Regions from separate parts of the Homo sapiens genome. Here region 2 is linked to region 1. The links are contacts of gene promoters, found by promoter capture Hi-C in blood cells and fetal thymus (Javierre and others, 2016). All regions are on one chromosome and are shown on one strand. Each heading gives the region's core, a stretch centred on a gene start or on the middle of the fragment in contact. The rest is flanking DNA. Distances are from core to core; before and after follow the strand shown. Region 1 holds the start of ANKFN1 (ankyrin repeat and fibronectin type III domain containing 1). Region 2 overlaps ANKFN1 (ankyrin repeat and fibronectin type III domain containing 1).

The links. The method cuts DNA at HindIII sites, captures the fragments that hold promoters and counts their contacts. A CHiCAGO score of 5 or more calls a contact.
Region 2: a contact is called between a fragment that was not itself captured here and the fragment with the promoter of ANKFN1 in region 1, in 3 of 17 cell types (M1 macrophages, M0 macrophages and endothelial precursors). The highest score is 7.5, in M1 macrophages.

The regions. Positions count from the first base shown.
Region 1 is chr17:56,149,989-56,155,570 of GRCh38, forward strand. ANKFN1 (ankyrin repeat and fibronectin type III domain containing 1) reads left to right here and starts at 3,487. Exons shown (of 21, transcript NM_001370326.1): 1 at 3,487-3,542. The HindIII fragment of the contact is 1,365 bases long and covers 3,014-4,378 here.
Region 2 is chr17:56,315,358-56,320,939 of GRCh38, forward strand. All of the region lies in intron 3 of ANKFN1 (ankyrin repeat and fibronectin type III domain containing 1), which reads left to right. Among named protein-coding and RNA genes, the nearest start is that of ANKFN1, 160 kb to the left of the region's middle. The HindIII fragment of the contact is 491 bases long and covers 2,047-2,537 here.

The sequences.
Region 1 (5,582 bases), core at 2,237-4,736:
TTCTATCAGTTCACTGGATCACCCTCTCTTTTGCTGAGTAGCATGTTGACATTTTTTATGACTCTCTGTTACCCTAAGAATATTTCTACGTAAGTTTTTTGGCCTGAATTATTGACAACAGCTACAAATCCCTGCCTGCAGACACCTATGCACACACTGGAAAGTTCCATATAGGGCAAAGGTCACAAAGTGGCAGCCCAGAAACTAGATGTGGTCCACCAATATGTAATTTTCTTTGACCTACACAATGTTTGTTAACACTTGGAATCAACATGATTAAGTTGGGAAATTTCACACATTTTCACATTTCTAGCTTCTCTTAAAAATATGAAAAGACGTGGCAGTCCTGGGTCAGAACCCCACATGTCAGTAAGCAGCTGGAGCTGGGTTACCGATACCCCCTTTAGACGTAGCATTCGGTCCCTATTTTGCCACAGTCTCCACCACTCTTTATTACCTGACACAAAGCCCACTGCCCTCATTTGTCTCACTTAGCTGGCCTCTGTAGGCATTTAACTTTGAGATCCCAATGTGTGGTAATGGTATTGGTTTAAGCAGAAGCTAGTTGGTGCCCACAAGTTATAAATGCACTTGGGTAGTAGATACAACTGAATTCTAATTCCTTTCCCTTTCCTTTAGGCATTCTTCTGCTCATCACATTCTCTTCCCAAAATGCTCAGCACCTTATGATGAATGCCGAGCACCAAAATATCGTCCCTTCCTGCCACTGTAGTGTAACATAACCCCAGGTTAGCCTCCTTCCACCAAGACTCTCATTCCATGATGTCTCGCTTATCACTCCCTAGCCCAAGCAGAGTGACCTTGAGAGCTGACTCAGGGAGATATCAGTGACATTGCTGTCACTTGAGTCAATATTGGCAAAGGAAAGTGCAAGAGAAAGAATGTGATGAAGTAATTAGTTGATTATTTGGGAAAGGATTTGGGACACCGGGGAAGTGAATAGAGTGACCTGACCAGGTGGAATGATCAGCCTGGAGAGCTCACTCTGGGGACAGAGTGAGAGGCAGGATGGAGGGACAAGGACCTGACATGGGGAGCCCACTAGGGAAGTTGTGGCTGAGTGTTTCCAGGCTAAGAGTGTAGTCCCATCTCTGCTCACTCAGTGTGCAGCCACCTCTCTGGTCCTCAGTCTTCATCTGTGACCTCCTTATGACCTTATAGCATTGGTCCTCTATTACTCACTTTGGCACCTAACACCCTCTACCTGCTGTTTTCATCATGAAGGTGCAGTGAGGACAGGACCTGCTCCCTTTGGTTGGAATCTTCCCCTGGTTAGTGCTGTCAGCCATGCAAAGTTTGTATTGTGTCATCATCCCCTGAAGAAAATAAGAAGGGAATCTGGGTCCAGATATTCCCAAATGATATGAATGTCTAAAATGCTGGGTTTGTGGCTATGTGCCAGTTGTAATTTGTGCATTTTTTGGTAGTAGGTTTTGTTGGATTTAGATTAGTCTTTTTATAAAATAAGCAGCATGGTAGAGTGGAGAAAGTGCTGGGTTGGGGCTATTTCCAGCCTGTCTACTACTAGGAAACACGCCCTTAAATGGGGCCTCTTTAGAGTAGATGGGCTGACAAAGCCAAGGGTATTGAAAAGAAGAAATAAGCACGTACCATGCAAGCCTAACTGGGCCTTTTTGCAACTCTGAGTTTCTGGGGTTTCATAGCCACAATCTGACCAACAGCACCACTGAGAGAGCTGGTTTTTATCCATTAAATAAAAGCATTACTTCCGTTACTCTCAGCTACACTTACTGCAGTAAGCCTAAGTAACATTAAAGACCAAGTCACCTTCATCTTACATAGATTTTAAACTTTTTGAAGCGGGCAGATACTATACCTTCACCTTGACTTGAATCTTCCCTTGAGCTTAATGCAGCTGACACTCAACAAAACACTCACAAATTGACTCATTGCTGTTCAATTCTTGAGTATATGTATCATGCACTTCCTATGTAACAAGCGTTTTACTAAGTATTAAAGAGTTTTTTTTAAAGAAAAGGAATGAAGCATGGTGCCTTCCATCAAGGAGATTCCATTCTGGTAGAGGGCCATTCCTGTGATTATGTACACATGCAGCAACAACTAAATCCATTTGATAAGCATTCTGAGGAAAAACTGTAAAAAGTACTATGGAAGCTGAGGTTGGGGATAGTAATGGAAAGTTCCTGGGGTAACTGATGCCAGAGCTAAGCCTTGGAAGATGAGTAATATAAGAAGCTCACCATCTTGCAGGGAAATATATATATATATATATGTGTGTGTGTGTGTGTGTGTGTGTGTGTGTGTGTGTGTGTTTAATTTTTCTGAGTGCCTCACTGTAACTCAGTACGAATATCCTCACTCCATGTTAAGCCCAGATCACCTGCAGAGATACCTATTATTACTTCTTTTCATTTACTTGTCTTTTTTTTTCCTATTGTATAGTAGCAGCAACATTTAGATAGAGAGTTCCCTTGAATTCTCTATTTTTAAAAAAGCAATTAGACATTCATGATCAAGGGTAATGGGGCTCTGGGCTCAAGTCCTCTATTTTGTTCCCATTCATCTGTGGGTCAATAGGTAAGCCACATCTGCTGAGCCTCAACTGCTTCAAAGTACTCATCCTTGCTGGACAGGCAAGTTGCTGGAAACAAGTTTTCCTTCAGCAACCATTCAGGTGGCAAATGTTTTATTGAACATCTACACTGTGCCAGGCACTAGGTGAGGAATCAGGGTCCAATCAAACTCTCCAAACCACTGCTCAACATACTCCTCCTTTGACAAATGGGTTTTCAAAATAAGCATGCACATAATGTGCCTCCTTTGGCACACTTCCCAAGAGATTTCACTCTGAAAAGAAAGGCCAGCCTCAGCCCTTAAAGTGCAGGCCAAATAAAAACTTGCTTGACTATCAAGATTATATTATCATCTCCCCTCCAGTTCCCACCAGACTTCTAGGAAACAGCCAGACAGCTCCTCCAACCAATCCAGTAGCCAAAATAATCCATTCCAAAGCTTCAACTGAGCATCTTAATGAAATAATTGTTTACCTGATTAGTATTCAGCATCCGCAGAAGGAGGCTAAAACCCACCCCTTTCAACCTTTCCTCTCTCAGTCTCACTCTCTCTTTCCTTCCCACCCTGTCTCCTTTCAGATATACTTTCGAATCCCACCCCTTTCAGGGGCACAAAGACCAACTCAAATCTGATCGCAGCATTATCAATCAACTTATTCCCTCCCCACCGGGCACCTCCTAAGATATTTTTCACCATTTCTTTCATTCTTTGAAAACGATTTCTTTGTCACCAAGCCTGTGTGGCACTTCCCCTGCCTCTCCTCTTGACCCTGCACTGTAATCTGGACACTCCTGGAGCCAAGCCGTGGGAGAGGCAGCCATGCTCAGTCTCCCTGGATAAAGCCAGGGTTCCCTTGGCAACGGGACCGTGTGGACATTCGCAAAGGGGTTTCCCTCCACCCCCCAGGTCCTCTTTCAACTCAAGAGCTCAGTCCTGTGTCTCTCATGGAGGCGTCTCTAACCAGGGTAGGAAAACAATAGTTCTAAATATCGGTAATTGGTGTTTGGAGGCCATTGTTTTGCATTCAACAGGCAGGAAAATGTGAGTTGAGTGGGCGAGTGAATTCGGGCGTTAGCTGGTGAGCATCCATGGTCAGGCAGAGGGAAAGCTGGTTTCATTTCTGTAAACAGGCAAATGTTGATCTGAAGTAGTTTGGGTCTGTAATGTGTGTCTTTGTCTTTTGGGAGGTGGGAGAATGGGGAGATTAAAGGAGAGAGGCTTCTAGAGACAAGTTTTTACTTTATGGTCTGTTTTCTCTTTTATCCTTATCATTTTATTTATATAAAGCAAGGAAACCAGGGATTACTTGTCTCCATGTTAATGCCAACTCTTGCTCATGATTTCTGACTGTTCACACGCTCTCACTGTCTCCCACATGGATTCTCTCCTTCTCTCTCTCTCACTTTTTATGGACTTTATTGTCATGATGATGGAGAAGTAAAATTTTTTCTAAAGTTGGAAGTGGATTTTTTTTTTGTAAGAGGTCATCTCTGAAGAGCTGAGCCAGGGCTAGGCAGGACAGAACTGATTGACACATACTAACCCTGTGGGTTGTGTCGGTGGTATCGGAATCCCTGTTACTGACCCAGATTGGTCCAGAAGACCTCAAATGTGCCTTTGGTTGATGGAGGAAATGCCTGTTATTGACTTGGTTAATACTAATCACAGGTTTCTACAATAATTCAGAAGGTTATTATTGAAGTCCTGGCTGAGGTCCTGGTAGGGGATACTAATAGGAGGAACTTATTCAGCTACTTCACTTCCCCTCAGGAGTTCAGAGTAGGTGAGGACCTTACCAAAAAGCTTTTCAGGAATGAACCTGAAGCTTAAGACCTTTGAAAAAACCAGAGATAAGTGCAAGTAAGGCATGAAAGGAGGAGGCCAGAGCACCGTTCAGTTTTCCTTTCCTTTTCTCTCTTTTCCTTCCTTTCTTTCTTTTTCCTTCCTTCCTTATAAAATCACATCCAGAGTGAGGCCTAAGCATAACTGCTTATGGAACCTCTGAGAAGGTATCTTGAAGTACTTGCTGAGTTTAAACTGGCTACTGCATTAACCTATTAACCAATATGCCAACACCAAAAAAAAAAAAAAAAACTTATTCCTTTTACTATGTATTCAAACTTTCAGTAAACCCTTTGGGGACAGGAACTATACAGTTTTCAATATTTTGCCCCTGATTCTAACCAGTTAGGGGCCAGGTACATTTGGGGGGCTCCATTCATGGTTGTAGAATTGAATTGAATGAACAGTGTGGGGTATGATTACCATTTGTTCCATGAAGTGTAGAGCTAGGACTAGTCTTGTGGTCAGAAGACTTAGGCTCTAGGCTCAGGTCTGACACTAATTAGTGGCAGAACTTCGACCATACTATTTCAGTTCTCTAACACTCAGTTTCTTCATCCATGAAGTGACAGAGTTTAAACGAGAACAGTGTTTTCCCAACAAAAGTAGTTATCTAAAGCCTTCATGCCCCCCTCAACCCTGGGGGATAGGAGGGTTTGGGAGAGGGAGGCCCGTCTGGTCAAGAACAGCTGCTGCAAAAAGGAACATGGCAGACAGAGGAGGAAGTAGAGCAAAAAGTGGCTCAGAGACTGGAAGCTGGAAAATGCTGGACCTTAGAGGACTCCTCAGGTCCCTTGTAACTCTGACATTTATTCAGAGTCATGAGACTTATCTCTCCCAGTTTTGTGTCACCTCTCCTGTATTAGGTACTTTTGAAGATGACACAAAGCAGTACTGTCATTTGTTCTGATATAGGCAAGCAAGCTACCTTTCTTCCATGAGACAAGGCTTCTCACTGCTGAGAGGTCTGAATCTCTGCCCTTGGAATGTGCCAAGCAGCTGGTCCTAAGCCAGCCACGCTCTGTCTCTTCATTCCAATATAGTCTTTCATTTATTCGACAATCAACAGGTAATTATTGAAAGCCAATAACTTTCCTTTTTTCTGGATAGCGTGGTCAGGAAGGTTCTCTTTGAGGAGGTGACAGTTAAGCTGAGGCACCAAT
Region 2 (5,582 bases), core at 1,042-3,541, 160 kb after region 1:
AATCAGCCTTGGTTGTAGTTGTATTTGACAGACTGAGTTTGAGCATCTGACAAATGCGTGAAACACTGTGACTCCCCTTTCAAACTAAGAGAAGACTATGCTAGCTAGCAGGGCAGCCCAGACAGAAGGTGCCTGTTGCTGTCCTTTTAATCCTCTCTGAGCAAAATCTTGTACTTTTCTCCCAAATAGTGAAGGAAGTGAATAAGCCATTGACCTTTTAATTCCATTCAACGCCTTTGCTGTGCTGCAAGGTGCATCCAGTAGGTTTCACAATGCAGAAGAATGACATTGAGTATTTGGCATATGCAGTCCTTGAGAAAGCTCCTCTGAGCTTAGAAAGCTCCTCTACTCCTTAGAAAGTAGCCAGAGCAGCCCATTCAGACTCTGCTCTATCTGATTTCATAGGAGTTCAGAGTCTGGGACAAAATGAAGAAAGGGAATTTGGACAGGAGTCTGAAGACAGAAGAACTAGGCCAGAAATAAAAGGGTCACACCAATGTCTGTGAAGAGAAGATGGGAATAATAGAGATGAGGCTACAATTTAAAAAGATGAATCAGTCAAGGCTTCTTAAAAGTGTTCCTACAACCTCTTCAACTTTCTTTTTGTTTTTCCTCCTCTGTTCTTCTTTCTTCTCCAATTCATTAAATGCCTCTTTGCTGCTATATGCCTTAGGTCAGACGCTCCTGACATTTGTACAGCAAACTTCATCTGACATTTTTAGAAGAAAGGGGACAAAGTTTTTATTTTCAGCTGAGAGTAATTTTAATGGGTAAAGTGGCATTTACAGTCAACGTTTAACTGATAGTGCAGATGGCCTTTATAATTGCTGGGTCTTATTACACAGTTATGCGTCTTTATTATTATGCTTGAATGTGCAAATAGAATTAACTTCCTTGCTTCTCTTGGTATTTCAAATTCTCACTGTGATTAATTACAAAGAATTCTCTCCTTAATACTAAGGATCTGATTCCATGAAGTTGTGGAGATAAACCAAGGAGACTTTTCCATTTGTAAAATGGAGGAGGTATTTCTTATGGCAGTAGAAAGCTGAGCAATTTGGCAGGAGACTGGGTCATAAGCCACCCACTCAAGTATCATCTAAGGAACACTTAGGCTGTGAAATAAATGGAGAAAAGGACCTGGAAAATACGGAAGGCTTCTTTAGAGATTTATTCATTTAGCAGTTAGCCAAGGGTAGAGGACCCTTTTGGAAATTTGGTCTTGGGGGCCTAAAATTTAACTTAAGCCTGGATTCAAATGCCAAACAGAAGTATTCCTAGAAGAATTGACAAAAAACAAAAAAATCTCATTTTGACTGGCACTCAGGAGAGAAAAATAAATGAGGGTGGAAGGAGGAGAGTTTTCTTTATGGCTTGACTGACCACCAAAGCTATCCAGATTCCTCACCCAAATCACCACCCACTGAGTGGGGCCACCTAGGGTAATTAAAGGATCAAATGCTCCTGTGCTATACTGTAAGCATTTAAAAAGCACCAGTCCCACTAATAGAAACATCTTGTTGGCTTTCTCTGAAGAAAACCTGAATAGAGAATAGAATTCTATTAATGAGTGAGGCACATCTACATTAGTTCCTTTTTAAAAAAGAAAACATTCCTGATAAATAACACACGTTTAAAGCAGATTTCAGCACACTCTCTGGAAAGAGAGATCACATATATTGACTCTGAAATATCAGACCATATGTCCAATACAAACCAAGACTAGCTGGGTTGAAATAAAGCATTTTTTTCTTTGTGGCAGAGAAGTTCTTCTATGTGTTAAGTGCTCTATGGCTTCTTGACATCATAACATGTTAGAGCTAGAAGTGACTTTCAACGTCATCTAGCATGACCCCCTCACTTAGAGGAGAAAACTGAAGGTGTTTTTAAAAAAGAAAAAAGCCAGAAGAACCTTCAAGAACATTCCAGTTGCTGTCCAGAAACATTGCAAATCAACCTTTTTAGATGCTTTAGCAAAAGGGAAAACTCCAGCTTGCCTTCATCTTTGACTCATAGGAAAGGTGTAAATCCCACCCACGTAGTTAAAGCTTTCTTGCTGGACTCCCGCTTATTTTGAATTTAACAAAGGCTAAAAAGCCCATTGTGAAATGTTTGTTTGGAGGGCCAGAATCTAAACTTGCATTCCTTGTCATGGTCATTTTTTTAAAAGAAGATGACAGATTAGAGTAACAGAAGGGGAGAGACTCCAGCAATGCTAGACATAAGAGACCATCAGAAGAGGATGCTCTTTCTTTCTGGCTTGCTGTTGTTATTTTTATTTTCCACATACTCCTAAGGGTATCGGGTTTATCACCATGGCTGGGATGGGGCTTGGAATGTGGTGGACAATATGACAACAATTTCCTTCCTGGTGTGTCCCTGAATGGCCAGTGCAGTCAACACATAATCAGACAATCTACAGCTGCACTGTTGCTGTTGACAACTTCATTATGCCTGTGATATTCAGCTGGGTAATTCATTTCTCCAGCTTGGCAATATCTCCTGATATGCCTAAATGGGTTCAATGTAATTTTGTAAGCTTTTGAAGATGCTTACCCTTCCCTTGTGAGACACGATACACATTGTCTCCCCTTGTGCTTAGCTTTGTCCTAATATGGGAAACAATGATAACCACCACCAGGAAATAGCATTGCCTTGTTCAGCTCTTTAGTGCAGATTGAGTCTCCAGACCACAAAGGCAGGAAATATTAGTGATTGGAATGACACAGTAGGTCACTTAATGTCCCTTGTAACTGCCTTTTTTTAAATTTTATTTTTATTTTTTGGCCTGCCTCTGCAATTAACCTTCATATAACCAGGGCATTTTTCTACAAAACCAGATGGCCTTGCCAAGGATGTAAAAATAGATAATTAATGGTTCTGGGGGGGGTGTGCTGGCCTTTGGCATGATACCTCTACCCTCACCAATACTGTCCTGAAATGGAAGAAGCAGATAAGAAAGTAGAAATATGAGCATGCATAGCATCCAACACCAAAGCTGCCCTTTTCCTTAAACTGGGAAAAAGTATAAAATGCATTCCTCTGAGTTCTCTTTAATTCTTTTCAATTAAACCTATATGTATTGAAAATTATCTACCATGCACAGGGCCCCAGTCCAAGAGCTGAGAGGGAAATTCAAAAATCAATGAGGCCCGGGTCCTGCCCTCATGGAGATTTCAATCCAGTAAGGGAATTACATAGAGCCCCAAGTAACTCTAATGAAGTTAGGCTGTGCTGAGAGTTTTAACATCGTTATAAATACTACAAGGAGAGAGGAGAAAGACATTCATTCCATCGGGAACATGAAAGAGAGGTAAATAGTCTGTCTTCAGGGCCACCTTCCTTATTCCACCAGCCAATCTGTATTCTTTTAAGAAAATCTGGTCTGCTGAGAATCTTATTGGAGTCAACGTCTTAGTTCTGAGTTAGGACTACTCATCCTATCTGATTTCCAAGTGCTTGTTTGTCGTCATTGATAATGATCTGTTCCCAAGTATCTCAAATGAAAATGGAGAAGATAGCATAAAGATAGGTCAAAGAGTCTTTCAGGTTATTCTTTTATCTTTTTATCTACCTGTTTTCTTGACTTTATAAAGCTAAATTCTCCTAAGTGGACTCCTGTTGGCAAGTAGAAAATAGAGACTGAATCTGTGACTTTTAACTGCAGATATTTCAATATTAAGATTTTCTTTACAAAAAAAATGAGGAGGAAGAAAAAACATAGACAAAGGAGGAAGAAGAGGAGGAGGGGTCTGCCTAAAATTGAGTAGTCATTTATCCTTCAGTATTTTGACTAATCAACGAAACCGTTTTGACTTGTCTATTGAATAGTCACCTCATGGATTCCAGCTTCCGTGCCTACTGGTGAAGATTCATATGATTTGATGGGTAGCTGTACACATACATAGGGTTTTGAAAAAGCTGAAACCCTGAAGTCTGATAAATGTTCTATTTTTTAATCTAGACAAACATTGGTTTATGAGTTATCAAATCCTAGAGTATTAACTATTTCATTTTCAAATTGTTTGAGAATTCTGCACAACATCCTTAAAGTAAACCAGGGCACAAAAATCATCTTTGGCTTTGAATCACCAATAAAAGACTTCCCCAGAGGAACGGCCAAAATGAGTGTTGTAAATGGAGAGGGATCCCAACATCTCTGCCATGGATAACAGTCCTCTACCACAACCGCACTACAGTCCAGATATCCCTATACAAAGGCATGATTGAGGTCCAATTAGCCACCAACCTATTACACACTTTATTCATTATGACCAAATCTAGTGCATCAAAGAATACAGATGGCCTAGGGATTGGTCATAAGAAGCAACCTGTGCTGGCTCCTTTTAAAGAGAGTTAGGTGAATACTGCCACCTATTGATAGGTGAAATTTATGCTACAAATTCCTACTGATGTGCTAATGCTTATCAGAGCTGATCTCATTTCTCAGTTGGCCAAAGCATTTTATCAGCCCGAACTTCATAATTATTTACATGTTTTTGATGAAAAATAATTATGTTACATTAATGTAAAACAACTAACGAAATGTATTATATTTCTTATTATATTATTATACATATTATGTATTATTTCTTATTTCTTGGCAAAGGAATGAAGTGGAAATACCACAAACTTTGCAGAGACCTGGGTCTGAGTCTCAGCTCAGTCCCTAAATGCACATAAACAAGCTGATTAATCTCTCTGAACCTGAGTTTCCTCATCGATAAAAAGTGGGTAATCCTACTTTGTAGAGTGTGAGAATTCAGAGATACCATTGCATGGCACATAGAAGGTATTTGATAAATGGCAGCATTTATTTTTCCACTGAGCTATTAAAAGTAACTATTTTGATGCAATGATTGGTAATATGACAAACCACATCATGTATCAGACTCTGGTGAACTCTTCCACATGGTTCAATTATCCTTTGGCAATGCTACTTGTCTAGTATAGTATCTTTGACATCCAAAATTAAGACAGTGTGAACATAAATATTATAACCTGAAGTGTGCCAATTGAGAAAATAAGGATAAATGGGCTTCATTACCAAATGTCTCCTGACTGCCCTAGAGGATATATGGGGCCGAGCAGATAAAGAATTATGATAAAATGTTGGAACTGCATATAAATGGGGCTTTGTGACCTGCTGGATAAGGTTGAGACTTAGAGCCAGACCCAGGAGGCTCACATTCCTTCCTCGGCATGGTGTGGGGGATCCTGGGCTCATACAGACAATAGGGGATTCATAGCTTGAGAATTCTAATGATGACTGAAAGGAGGGTGGCAGCCAGGACAAGAAGGCTTTTCAGAAGCATGGACTCCGATTATCACGTCGGTGCTACAGCCCGGTGAGAGGCTGCTGAGAGGACGGATGAAGCTGTTCTTGGAAAGCTTTCAGTGAAGTGTTTGTAACCTCCTTTAAGAGAATCCCGTTTCTCAAAAATGTGGCACTGGAAAATCCCACATGATTAGTTCAGATAAACACTCTGTCATCGGATTGCACTACGAGGAATATGGGCCATCTCTTTTCGAAGAGTCTTTTTGAATGCAATGTGTCTCGTCTCCAAGACTTAGAGAAAAAT